Regions from separate parts of the Homo sapiens genome. Here regions 2, 3, 4 and 5 are each linked to region 1. The links are contacts of gene promoters, found by promoter capture Hi-C in blood cells and fetal thymus (Javierre and others, 2016). All regions are on one chromosome and are shown on one strand. Each heading gives the region's core, a stretch centred on a gene start or on the middle of the fragment in contact. The rest is flanking DNA. Distances are from core to core; before and after follow the strand shown. Region 1 holds the start of RXFP2 (relaxin family peptide receptor 2). Region 2 overlaps B3GLCT (beta 3-glucosyltransferase). Region 3 has its middle 200 kb from the start of B3GLCT. Region 4 overlaps LOC105370150 (a long non-coding RNA gene). Region 5 overlaps LOC105370150 (a long non-coding RNA gene).

Region 1 (2,747 bases), core at 97-2,596:
GACTGCTTGTTGCAACTGTACTGCATGCAAGGTGAGTTCATATATTGTTTCTTCTTAGTTAATCCTTAGCTTTTCATGTAAGAGATATTAAAATATAAAATAAAAGTCATGCTAGGTGCATGGAGATATAGATTTTAAATATTTGTAGTAAAGTTTTAGTATTATTTTAAATTCAAAATAAAATTTAGATATTTTAAGCCTTTTAAAAATCTTTTGTTTGTTAGAAGTTTTAAAATAATTCCTCATAAGTATTGCATTTTATTTCAAGATTTAAAATATTCACTTGGAATTCACCTAATAAAACTGAATATTTAAAAAACCTAAAACGAATTTCTCAGAAAATAAAAATAATTTCAAATTTTAACCTTTATTCTCAGAGGTTTATCAAAATTCTTTAAGAAAAAATACAAATTAAAATAGAAACATTTTTGAATAATAATAAACCCCAGCAAATCTTGGGTGTGGTTAATAGGTTGTTTATGAATGTATAGGCTGACAACGTATCTTTTTATTTAAAAACAAGTGAAGATTTAGGTTTTATTTTTTGGTGAGCTTTACAATGAAAATGGTACTGACTTGAAACTTAAGAGTTTGACTGAAATAAAAATTTCCACAAATTAAAAACAAAAGAAAATTATCTAAGTAAATGCACTTGTATAGACTTTTAATAACTTTATTTTAGAGAGGTTTACTCTTAGAGACAGATACTGTTTTTTAGATCTGCCTGTGGCTTTGGAGTTCCCAGTTTAATTATGTTCACGCAAGATAGTTACTAATAATTACTTGAATTTTATGGGCATATTTCAACAGGTTGAAATTCCACAAAACACAATTTTAGTTTATTAATTTGTCACACTTTTCAGAACAAATGCCAAAAATGTTTTCTATGTTTTAATTGATATAGTCAACATTGTTTTTTGACATATTTTATCTACAGCTTTAATAACATACAAAGGCTTGTTTCCATGAAAAATTTGTTGCATCTAAAAATTACTAGGCTGTGTGGGACTACAAGCAATGAAAGATAATGACAAATACCAGGCAAATTTGATGTCTGTTTTTTTTTTAAACACCCCAATATATTTATTACAACTGCCATAGAACTACATAGAAATGTATTTTTTGGGAATTGCACTCATTTAAAACGAGAAAGTAGCAACCTTACCTTTGACATTGATCAGAACGATGAAATGAAGTAGAAAGAACATTGTAATCAATCTGAGGCTGAAGAGATGTTTAAAAACCAGAAAAACAATCATAGGTTTACAGCAATTGAGTTATTAGACGTATCCTCTTATACCTCAGCAGGAGTTCTGATGTAGTAAGTTCAGTGCCTCCCATGTTCTGAGCATGCTCACAGCTAGAACCTCACTGGCATGAAGGGAGATGGATTCTTGTCACTATGCAGCCTGTCTTTTTTGTTCTTTCTTTTTTGTTTCTTTTAGTTTAAATCTACAGTTGTGTTCTTGATCACTAATTCATTATGGTGTGTAAAAGAAGGTATAATAGGACTTTGGTATTATCTGATAAGAAATATTTTTTAATCACTTAAAAATTTTTTTCCTCCAAAGCATGTACAATTTGCTCTGTTTAAATCCAAACATCGAAGTTCTCAAATATGAAGGATATAGGCTTACACTGAATAGGCTATGAAACCCTTTACAATTATATTTTCATGCAATAAACAAATGTAAAAAACTACTTATTGACAGATACACAAAGAACACCCACTTCTATTCAAATGTACCTAAATGTTTTCAAATGACATATGAAAAGATAATTTAAATATATGGCATTGTGTTAAATAATTACTGTAAAACATTCATACAATATTTTCACTTCACATACTTCCCGCATAATCATATTCCTTTTTCTTGAAGTGAATAATTTTATTCTTGCTTCCAGCTCTGTATTGCACACCTATTAGAAAACACTAATTATAATTTAGTTCTTACATCCTGAAAGCAGCTTTCTCAACAGCATAGTTAGTACAAGTTAAAAGTATAAAAATTGACTTTTGGTTGTAGGATTCTGTTGATCCTAGTGTAATCATTAAGACTTCTCCAAAAAGATGTAGAATTTCCATGTCTGAGTTTATATTTTACTAACAGGGAAATATCTATCTAGAATACAGTTTGTAGTTCTGATTTGAAGAGAAGATTTTGTGACTGAACGATGCAGATTCTCTTATATGTTGTCGTTAACTGTGTCCTAACAACACTGAAAAAAACTACCTTGTGGTGACTATTATCGTCACAAATCATAAAACACGGGGTTTTCCTTGTTCTTTCTTTCATTCTAGCCTTTGAGAGAACAAGGATTCAAACAGAATGTACAATAAAAAATACTTTATTTATCACATAATGTATTTAGTTCTTTTCTCTTTTTAAGAAGTGAGTTAAGTTCTCTAAGACACCTCCCAGACATATTTATATGTGGTCTCATCTGATCTTTCAAATCAAAAGAAAAAGCAACAGAGAGAATAAAGATGAAAAGAAATACTTCAGGATCTTTTCTTACATTTCAAGCATCTTTTTTTCCCTCACTAACCTCAAGGTCTTTTTAGGTAAAAATTGCCTTATTTCACTTAAAGGAATGATTAGTTTTTCTTACGTTTTGTGTTTTGCTGTCGAGATGATGGATGCTAGTTTCTGGTACTGAAATTTTGAGCATGAGTTTTTAAGTGCAATTAAATACCATCATAAGTCTATTTGAAGTATAAATATATTTTCTATGAAAATGTAATT
Region 2 (2,747 bases), core at 122-2,621, 490 kb after region 1:
TGGTATTGAAGTTATATTCACCTTAGAGGGGTCATATCTTCTGAGGGTTTCCAAGAGTTTTGGAATCTGTATTCTTGTCTCTTCTTCACAGAAGAAAATCCAAGATGAATTTCTGCTATATGTTACAGAAAAACTGACCAAAAGAAACAAGTTTCAGTAATCACTTCTGTAAAATAAGTTAATAATAAGGTTTAAAACTGATCAGTAGGAAGTGAATGAAGGGTACACAGAATGGCATATCTAATTTTTTTCTCTATATTTTTCTTCAGCTTATAGAAAAGCCAGATGCTAATGGTTTAAAAAACAGCTGGAGTTCGTAAAGTTAATTCTCTCCATAACAACACTAGTTCAGGGGATAAATAATTTTCAAATATCAACTTGAAGCATTTTATTCTTTAAGAAAAAGCATATATAGGGCAGGGTGTGGTGGCTCACGCCTGTTATCCCAGCACTTTGGGAGGCCAAGGCAGACGGATCACAAGGTCAACAGATCAAGGCCATCCTGGCCAACATGGTAAAATCTCATCTATACTAAAAATAAAAAAATAACTGGGAGTGGTGGTGCACGCCTGTAGTCACAGCTACTCGGGAGGCTGAGGCAGGGAATTGCTTGAACCCATGAGGCAGAGCTTGCAGGAGCCAAGTCACCACTGCATTCCAGCCTGGCGACAGAGCGAGACTCTGTCTCCAAAAAAAAAGAAAAAGCTATTCATGATTAAGAACCAATCATCAAGAAATTTGGTTAAGGTAGTAATCATAAAAAGTAAAACTCAAATTTACTTCACTTACTGACTGAGGAAAACCACACCCTCTTAATAAAAAGACTAAGGGCGTAAAAGTGTTCAGGTAGGAATGTCAGTAATTCACAGGTGAGTTAAACAAACGTACTGCGGTAACAACGGAAGTATGGTCCATGCACCTTCTTGTTTAGCCAGCTGATGAAGGAGGAGGACACTGGGGAGCTCCTGAGAAAACAATGATCAAAGAAGATAAGTATGAATTGACTACTCCGAAAAAAAGTAAAAAAAAAAAAAAAGAAAAGAAAAGAAAAGAAAAAAGAAAAAAAGAAAAGGCTTGGCTTAAAATGCAGCTGTTTCTAGAGACCTGACATGGTACTCTTCAAACCACTTCTTTTTCCTCATTTTCTCCAGGAGCTACTGGAAATGAAGTATTTTGGCTGAATCCATGCAACCTCTACACTCTGCACCACCCACACACCCAAATAGAGCTCAAGACCTACAAGGAGGGTCTTCCGTGACTCCGAGCCAACCTGAAATCTGTGAAGGTGACTTGAAGGGAAGAGCCTGGGGGAAGTAGTCAGGGATAACTCAGAGGCACAGAAGCAGTTTTTTATTTTATATACAACATATGGAACATGTGAAAATGAAAACCCTTTGGCTAAACTAGAGGATACAATATTTGATCTACCTCATGTGCAAAAATTACTTTACTTTTTAAAGTTCTCTAAACACATTAAAATACCCTGATAACAAAAAGTTTTGGTCGAGAAATGTAATCCTTAATTACTCAGGCAATAACAGGAATAGCATAATAATGGAATTGACAAATTTATAAGCATAGGAGGAACTAAAATTCAGAAATAAGGCACAACTGTGCTTACATAAATTATGTATACATATATAAAGAGAGATTAATATTTTTAAGGCTACGAGTGTTAGCTTTGAAGCAAAACACTATTCCCTATATTTCAAGTTGTTACAAAAGCCAAAAGTCAAAAATTTCATATCTCATATGCTTAAACCTCCTCCCCCAACAAACTTTATTATATCCTGTGTTTTATACTAGCCATAAAACTATATTCCTAGTAACCATTACAGACAAAAGAATTCAAGAACAAGTACCTAAGTATCTGAAACATTACTGCACTGATGTGGATTTCACAGCTGTCTTAAAGTTCATAGATATTTATTATTTAAGAAGAGAATAGTCTTTAATGTAAATCTTTGGAATTAAATTTCAAGTAAATCTCATTTATTTTATATAATATTCATTTCAACTTCCATGTAGAAATATGAAATGCAAAAAACAGTAATCACAGGTTAAATCAGACAAACAATGTGGTATGTTAGAAAGAGCAAACCTTAAGGCTGAATTAGCAGTTACCCAATATAAATAATTCAGGGCCTTCCTACTGTTACTTCTGAATTATGCAGTAATTTTCATTGTCTTTTTAAAATTCCAGCAAATATATATATTCATGAAGGATTACATAAGAGCAGAAAATCATGTGTAAAGAAACTAATGATGTTACTATTTGCATAAAACTTTGGAATAATTATGGGTAAATGCAAATGTGAGCTAGACAAGAAAAGAAATATAGCAAATACTTTTTAAAGTTTTACATAAAAGTAGCTAATGAGTTATTATGTATCAATTAAAATTATGATGAAAACTTTATAACAACGGAAATGTCTTTATGTTTAATAGAAAAAAACCAGACATGATTCCAAGAATAAAACAAAATCCTAGATGAACAGAGACTAGAAGAACCAGGAAGTGAAAATATTTGTGTCAAGATGATAGAACAATGAGATATATGCTTTAAAAATCCTTCAATTAAAACATAGCTAAGTTTTTTAAACATTGAAGGAAAATGAATGCACCTCAAAAATTTACTTCCAAACAAGTATTATACTTCCTAGTTATAGGATATATATATAATGTAATATCAACAGCTATTAACTGAGAAAAGGCTTCCTTTGATACCTTGACGGTAACCTCAGCAG
Region 3 (2,747 bases), core at 128-2,627, 340 kb after region 1:
AAAATATTTGATTTAAGTTCTTCTTATTATTAAACCAATTAACTTAAAACTTCACAAAGGAGATTAACCAGTTTGCATAGAGAGAAAGAGGCCCAAGACTGACTGGTAAGAAATTCTTACCCTTATGCCTGCGTGCCAGGTGTCTGGGTTCTCTCTCCCTGAGCGACCCTGGCGACCCTGCTTGAATGTATGCAAAAGAACACATGAATTAAGAATATTCATGAATAGTTTACAAATATTGGAGAAGTTAGGCAGAGAGAGAAATATGACTCAAATTCTATTTGTGAGAGTATACTTAACACAAAGTACCAGGAAGGCTAAAATCCAAGGTTAGTTTAAGGATAAAAAGCTGGCGTGTTCCATTAATTCTTGCAGGCCTGACAAAAGTAGTTTAGGAATTCCAGATAAATGGAACGGAAGATGACTTGCTAGAAGTGCATAGGAAGCAAAACAACTATTCACATAACGAAATAAAAACCAAACTAAAATAATAAAATCATGATTTTATATATATGGATACACAAGCAAAATCAGAGGAGAATAAAGAGCAAAGGAATGAAAACTAGAGCAAAAACAAATAAACAGGAAACCAACCCTAAATTTTCATACTCAATTTTCCCTAGCCAACAGTGTTTCCTAGGGCCCCAGAAAACCCACATAATGAATATTTTATTCCTGATACTCAATTCAACATCCCCAAGTTCACCAACGCCATCATACATCCTGTGCAATTAAGTAATTCACTTAAGGCACACGACCAATAACCACACTATCCACGTACGGCAGTAAACATAGTGTGAAGTAATGCAAGCATATATGTGACATTTGGTTCTGTGATAAATCCAGCTTCATGCTTAACTATGTTAAAAAAAGAATTGTCAAATTGCCCATGCATTTTTACAATACTTCTTACTTTAATGAAGACTAAAAGCTTTAACTATGAAAATGTTAATTAGCCAAATGCTTCCAATTCTTTATCAGGTTTTAAGGAATATTCTATAGTTTAAACTTTTCCACATCTTTCACCTCTACTTAATGGTTCCTTACTATATTGTTTCATAAATAACTTTTTCTTTCTTTTCTTTTCTTTTTTTTTTTTTTTTTAATTGAGAGATAGCCTTGCTCTGTCACCCAGGCTAGAGTGCAGTGGCACAATCTAGGCTCACTGCAACCTCTGCCTCCTGGGTTCAAGCGATTCTCCCACCTCAGCCTTCTGAGTAGCTGGGATTACAGGCACGTGCCACCACGCCCAGTTAATTTTTGTATTTTTAGTAGAGATGGGGTTTCTCAATGTTGGCTAGGCTGTCTCGAACTCCTGGCCTCAAGTGATCTGCCCACCTCGGCTTCCCAAAGTACTGGGATTACAGGCATGAGCCAACATGCCCGACCCATAAATAACCTTTTCAAGTCTGTAATTTGAACTAACTTTTAGATAACATCTGAATTAGACATCTATAGACAAGAATTATTTTGCATTGCTATGAGTTATCTACCATTTACAGAGTTTGAAAATAGCTTCAAGATATTGAAAGGTGCAGAACTCCCACAGACTCAGAATCAAATTACCCCTTGAGAGATAATGCTCTAGTTTTCCACTGAAACATAATATTTTCCTATGGTCTGGGGAAGTTAGGAAATAGATGAGGCTGCATATGTTGAAGGGTATCAGATTGCAGAGACCTTAATGCCAGTGGGATGTGGTTTTAACCTATACATACTAGCATCAAAATGATCAAAGTGGCTTGACATTACCTTGAGGAGACAGTATTCATGAAAGGAGTAATGAAGAGCCCCTGGAAAGCTGGAGGCATTTTGGAAGCTTAGCACTGATAAAGATTTGAGGCTAAAAAGGTCTGAACTAAAATTGAGGTAGTGAGACTCACAAGAAAGGATAATTATAAATATAATTATGTAAGAAGAATCAATATTGGTTGAGGGAAACAGAAACAAAAGGTAACCGTAGTTTTAAACATGATTTGAAGCTATTTCCTTTGAATTCAACGAACAATGAGTATCTGAAGTATACTAGGATTGTGCAAGGTGCTGGAATTACAACAATGAGAAAGATTTTTTTAAAAAAAATTCAAATTATACTTCTACAGAAAACCATCAGACCATAAAGAAAGACTCCAAGAAAGAAAGAAAAACAAAAGAACAAAGAATCTATAAAACAATTGATAAAGTAACAGTAGTAAGTCCTTAGTTATCAGTAATAACTTTGGATGTAAATGGATTAAATTCTCCAATCAAAAGACATAGGGTGGCAGAAAGGATTTTTTAAAAAACCTAACTATCTGCTGCCTACAAGAGGCTCATTTCACCTTTAAGTAAACACACAGATTGTAAGTGAAAGGATGGAAAAACACATTCTGTGCAAATGGAAATCAAAAGAGAGCAAAGGTAGGTATACTTACATCAGACAATATAGACTGTAAATAAAAAACTATACAAAGAGACAATGAAGGTCATTATATAACAAAAAGAAGTCAATTAATCAAGAGGATGTAACAATTATAAATACATATGCACTCAATATCAAAGCACCTAAATATATAAAGCAAATATCGAAGGATCTGAAAGGAGAAACAGAATGTAATGCAATAATAATATGGAAGTTTAGTAACCCACTTTTGACATGGACAGATTTTTCAGCAGAAAATAAGTAAGAAAATATTGGACTTTAACTATACTTTACAGCAAAAGAACCTCATGACATATACAGAATATTTCATCTAACAGCAACAGAT
Region 4 (2,747 bases), core at 82-2,581, 290 kb after region 1:
CACCATGTTGGCCAGGATGGTCTCGATCTCTTGACCTCGTGATATGCCCGCCTTGGCCTCCCAAAGTGCTGGGATTACAGGAGTGAGCCACTGCGCCCAGCCTTACTCCTTTATTTTCATGGCCCATATTTTATATCTTTGCCTTTGGTGCACATGCTCAACCTAGGATACTTTCTTAAATATTCTCCCTTAAACAAAACCTTCCGGAGTTTAGAATCTCACTTTACCAGACTTACCCCACCTGTGAAAGATATTTTGGTACCCCATGAAGGAAGGCAAGGTACTACCTGGTAATACTTTAAACCCTTTGTCATGCATTATTAGCCCTTTCATTCACAGGTTATAGGACTTTAGAACTGAAGGGATCCTAGGGATCACTTACAGAAGGGATTATTGAGGCTTTTCCAATGACAGAGAGAGTAAATGATTTTCCCAATGAGACAAAACAGTGCAGTGAAAACTGATGTTTCTGTAGACAGTCTTGATGCTCAATGATATCAGGAGATGATTCACAGTCCTCAAGGGCAGTTCACTTATGTTCCTGACAGTTCAGAGTTAAATCTGAATCTCATAAACCATGTATTCCATGTAACTCTTGTGTGACATCTCCCAGTTCAGAAGGATAGACATACTTCAGAGCATCACATTGTCTACCCACTCCAAGAGCAGCGAGCAAGTGCTGCATTTTGGAAAGCTTTCTTGGTTGTTTGATGTAAATTAAGGCTTCTACTTCCACTTTCTTATAGTAACCATTTACTTTCTCAGAGCAAACCTTTACCTTTTTATATGTGAATTTGCCTGTGATTATATTATTATATATTGCTATTATTATTTTAATAATAATTTAATTATTATATTATAATTGGACTGTAAAAATCATGAGGGCAATGGCTGGGATTCCTTTATGTATCTTTGTATCCTAGTGTCTAGCACATGCTTTGAACATAGCAGGTACTCAAGAAATATTGAATGAATAAATGTATGTTTGTGTCTTTTTTTTCTAGTTTAAGTGTAAAGTCTATAAGAGAGGGACTTAGTGCTTGTTAGCTTAAAGTAGGTCACTTAATGCCAAATCAGGGTTTTTAAAGAAAATTCACTAGAAAGGGGGTCAAAAATGTAAACTCCTATAGATGCAAGCAGGGAACATGAATGAGAAAAACCAGGCTGTGTGTGAGAATTACAAGCCAGGGACTCCTGGCTGGTGATGCCCCTCCCAGGCCTTGCTTGGCCACATTAGTATGCCTCAGCTCCCCTGTGTTCAGTGGTTCCTGAGCTCTTGCATTGCGCCCATGAAGAATGAGGATATGTGGGACATTGAAAGATGAGGAGGATGGAGAAGATTTTTATCGAATGATGAAAATGGCTTTCAACAGAGACAGGAACACAGTTGCTGGGGGTGCAGGGATTGTTCCCCTACCCAAAGGCCAGAAAGATCCCCCTGGTGGCCAGGTCTGGGGCCTTTTATGGACTCAGAATGGGGAGTGTGTGCTGATTGGTTTGTGAGTATGCAAATAAAGTTAAAGCAAAGGCACCACTCAAAGGTGGGCACAACAAAGTAGAAAAACCAATTAGGAACATCAGTTTTCACTGCACTGTTTTGTCTCATTGGGAAAATCCTTTACTCTCTCTGTCATTGGAAAAGCCTCAATAATCCCTCCTGTAAGTGATCCCTAGGATCCCTTCAGTTCTAAGGTTCTATAACCTGTGAATGAAAGGGCTAATAATGCATGACAAAGGGTTTAAAGTATTACCAGGTAGTACCTTGCCTTCCTTCATGGGGTACCAAAATATCTTTCAGAGGTGGGGTAAGTCTGCCTTTGGTGCACGTGCTCAACCTAGGATACTTTCTTAAATCTTCTCCCTTAAACAAAACCTTCAAATTCATTCCGGAGTTTAGATTCTCACTTTGCCAGACTTATGTATATGTAAAATAGGTGAAGGATGGGGACCAATCAGAGGAAAGCTTGCCAAACAGGAAGACAAGATCTCAATCTGGGTCCAAAGATTTAACTTGTAGGTTGGCTTTCAGTCTTTAAACTGTCTTCAGTTGGAGGTGGGGTTTCACTGAGGACCCACTTCTGTCTGCCTAGAATTTCTCTGCCTCTATCACAAGCACCTCTATCACAAGCACCATGATTAGTAAATGATACCCAGAACCAGGGAGGCAATAGAGAGTGGAGAGCAATGTGGCAAAGGAAAGAGCATAGGCCTCAACTAAATGGTCAGGATGTTACCAGGTAGAAATGGAAATCCAGCGTAACCAGATCTGATTTTTCTAGAGAGTGAAAATCTAGCTTTTGATATAAAATATCACAATATTAAAATATTGATAATTAGCTCATTTTAAAAAGAAAAACACTGTAGGCAAAACAAATCTTTCTATGGGAAGCCCAAAGGCTATAAGTTACCAGACTCCTGTTCTAAAATCCAAGGAATGTGACCAGGAAGCTCTGTAAGGGTAATTGAACCCAGTCTTCCCCATCTTTCCCGCATACCATGAGACTGCCTCTGGTACGTAGTGTCACGATCCAAATGTTGGGTCACCTGAGGGCCAGATGGGCCATACCTTTTATTCTAATCCAGGACCTACCAAGGCCAAAAAGAGATGGCACAGATGTGCCCTGCTGGCAGGCTGTGCAATTTGAGTCAGTGAATTCTCCCCATCACTCTACCCTGAGTCTTCATTTTTCATCTGAATTAGTGCAACAACCTCCACATTGGTCTTTCTGCTCCTAGGCTGACTCCTT
Region 5 (2,747 bases), core at 114-2,613, 270 kb after region 1:
TAGGCATTGGGACTAAGTGCTAAGTGCTTTAACGAACTAAACTACTTCAATCTCACAGTTCTATGACATACGTATTTTTCTAATCCTCATTTCACAGCTTCAAAACTAAAATAAAAGAAAACCTTTTTTTAAAGCTTAGGTTAAATAACTTATCCATATTTAAATCATTAGTAAATGCCAGAGCATGACTTGAACTATCTATGCCTGACCTTGAAGCTCATGTTCATAACCAAGTCATATTTCACCTTGTTTTGTTAACAAATAAGGAAGCCAAAGCTCAGAGAAATGCATGGCCTGATTAGTGTCATCTTGAAGGCTGAAGTATCAACCTCATCTTGAAGGTTGTGAACTACAAAGCATGTATCCTCTGGAGTTAGAATATTTACTCTGCATTTCTTCCATGGCTCAATTGCTTATGATAAAACAAGGTGACTCAGAGAATAGCCCCAAATGCAGAAGTTCATCTGTTACATTCACTTACATTCAACACCCTGGCCATGCCTCTTAGACCTCCAGTCTTTCCAGGATTTCTTTTCTTCAGGTTTATTTTCCTTGGCCATGTCTATTGTGTTGAAGGACATTCAGAGTCCATTCAAGGGCACATCACTTTTGACTACAGCACAGAAGAATCTTGGTGTACAAATCTCCTATTTTAAAAAAATATTTTAAAAACTCTTCTCCTGTTCAAATCATTTCTCCTTGAGAAGCAATTGTATCACCAGCCAATAAATATTGGTTGAAATAAATGAATTGAACTATTAAATCAGAATTCAGTTAAATGCATTAACAAAGAACTTCTTCTGTGTCAGGAGTGAGACATTGTTAAAAAGTTATTCTATGTACCTATTCTTCCATTATTCAAGAATAGCTGCAGTTAAACAAAAGAGATGGTGAGTGACTTAAATTACTATTTCAGCAATTTAGGATTGGATGAGCACTAAGGCCCTTTAGCTCATTCAATTGCCATAAGAGTTGTGCTCTAAGAAGAGACAGTCCCTTTTGTTTCTGTCCTTTAGAACATCTTTTCTTTCAATAAAATCTCATGTTTCCCTTTGCTTATCTTAAGAAACTAAAAATGTTCCTAGGGTCTCTTGAATACAGTATCAGAATAAGATTTATAAGAAAAACTAAGTTATATTTAAAACTATAAGGATATATGTTTATCTCTTTTCCTTCCTTTCTCTTTCCTCCTCCTGCTTTTACTACTCCTCCTTCTTTTCTATTTATCTTTCTCCTACCACCTTTCTTCCTGAAATTTATGCTTATCCTTATATTAACTACTAAATGAAGTATGGGAGTTACCCATTTGTCTTGGGTGATGGATGGGGAAAATCCAACACAGTAACACAAAATATGAATATTTTATTGTATCTAGAATGTTTAATTTATTGTATCTAGAATGTTTATTGTATCTAGAATGTTTCTGAAGGGTAAAATAGCTTCCAGCAGTGACTTAAAAGCTAATTGAGATGTTAATTAACATGTTAATTTTAAACACTTGGAAAAGAAGGAAAATTAAAAATAAAATAAAATGAAAAATAAATTAAAAATAAAATTAAAAATAAATTAAAAATAAAATTAAAAATAAAAATAGAGAAAAAATAGGAGAATAAAAAGAAAGAAAATATGAAAAGAAAAAAATCTAACCAGAAAGAGGAAACAGGATGTAAGAAGCAATGGAAAGCATGATCAATTTATGGGTAGCTATAAATAAACTCTAAGAATAATTATAAAAATGACAAATATCTGTTATAAGCTAGATAGGATTAAAATACAGAGCATCAGTAATGTGAGAAAATATCTGAGTTAAAATGGTCAGAGTTTCTTATATTGCTAAGGAGAAGGCAGAGATGTTGATTAACTGAGACTATGTCAAATAAGTGGGAATTACTAAAAGACTAGAAGTAAAATGTGGTAGAAATTAAAAAGAACGAAGAAAACTCCATCAATTCAACAGAAGTCAAAGAGGAGGAAAAGAAGCATAATAAATAAAAAGAACAAAATAAGACTGATAAAATAAATCCATGTATCCTGACAATCACTGTTATTTAATGAAACTCCTTGTAGAAGATGAAGACTCTCCAATTAGATTATTTTCAATAAAGCAATTTGCTGTTTATAAAAATTATACTGAAAATATAATGACAAAAAAAAGATTGAAAGCAATGGATTAAACACGGTGACTTCAATATACAAGTTTGCCTCGTTTTCCTACAGCACCACTTTTAAACAAGAGAGAACTTTTAGAAGTTGTAGACAGGAAAAAAGACGACAGCAATAAAATTTTGCTGACTGTAAGACAGATGAATATTAATTGATCTTACAGATTGGAAAATTTTGAAACCTAACACAGCACTGTTGAGAAATCCTAGTGAAGGCCAGAAGCAAAACGAGTCGTTTTGCAGAACTCCAGATACAGAGGAAGTAGAAGTGATACAGGAGTTAAAAAGAAATTATTTAGGCAGTTAGGGTAAGAGAGTCTTCGATAAGGCTTTCCTTGTGACAAAAAGCAGCCCCCAAATCATTTCTTTTCTAACAAAGAGCAGCCGGTAAAATCAGGCTGCAGACATAAATAAGAAAGCTGGAAGCTTGCATAGTTTAATGTGGGCAGCTCTCCCAAAAGGAAAAGGCTACCCCGGGGGCCGGGCATATTCAACATGGAAGTTCCCCCTTCCCTTTTCTTTGACACCATATGTGCAGTAAAAAAGCAGGCAACAAGGCGCCAGCCAGGTAGAGACACCATCTGC

Evidence for each region. The method cuts DNA at HindIII sites, captures the fragments that hold promoters and counts their contacts. A CHiCAGO score of 5 or more calls a contact.
Region 2: a fragment that was not itself captured here is called in contact with the fragment with the promoter of RXFP2 in region 1 in 3 of 17 cell types (M2 macrophages, M1 macrophages and megakaryocytes); the score reaches 5.5 in M2 macrophages.
Region 3: a fragment that was not itself captured here is called in contact with the fragment with the promoter of RXFP2 in region 1 in 1 of 17 cell types (M2 macrophages); the score reaches 5.1 in M2 macrophages.
Region 4: a fragment that was not itself captured here is called in contact with the fragment with the promoter of RXFP2 in region 1 in 1 of 17 cell types (M2 macrophages); the score reaches 5.9 in M2 macrophages.
Region 5: a contact is called between a fragment that was not itself captured here and the fragment with the promoter of RXFP2 in region 1, in 1 of 17 cell types (endothelial precursors). The highest score is 5.8, in endothelial precursors.

Annotation. Positions count from the first base shown.
Region 1 is chr13:31,738,125-31,740,871 of GRCh38, reverse strand. It overlaps RXFP2 (relaxin family peptide receptor 2), which reads right to left and starts at 1,346. Exons shown (of 18, transcript NM_130806.5): 1 at 1,166-1,346. The coding sequence starts at 1,259. The HindIII fragment of the contact is 9,597 bases long and covers 1-2,747 here.
Region 2 is chr13:31,245,241-31,247,987 of GRCh38, reverse strand. B3GLCT (beta 3-glucosyltransferase) reads right to left here. Exons shown (of 15, transcript NM_194318.4): 5 at 889-965; 6 at 22-133. Among named protein-coding and RNA genes, the nearest start is that of B3GLCT, 47 kb to the right of the region's middle. The HindIII fragment of the contact is 2,843 bases long and covers 1-2,747 here.
Region 3 is chr13:31,400,957-31,403,703 of GRCh38, reverse strand. No RefSeq gene overlaps it. Among named protein-coding and RNA genes, the nearest start is that of B3GLCT, 200 kb to the right of the region's middle. The HindIII fragment of the contact is 888 bases long and covers 934-1,821 here.
Region 4 is chr13:31,451,424-31,454,170 of GRCh38, reverse strand. The region is part of intron 4 of LOC105370150 (a long non-coding RNA gene); the gene reads right to left. Among named protein-coding and RNA genes, the nearest start is that of B3GLCT, 250 kb to the right of the region's middle. The HindIII fragment of the contact is 1,269 bases long and covers 697-1,965 here.
Region 5 is chr13:31,468,381-31,471,127 of GRCh38, reverse strand. LOC105370150 (a long non-coding RNA gene) reads right to left here. Exons shown (of 6, transcript XR_941830.1): 6 at 512-647. Among named protein-coding and RNA genes, the nearest start is that of RXFP2, 270 kb to the left of the region's middle. The HindIII fragment of the contact is 2,454 bases long and covers 137-2,590 here.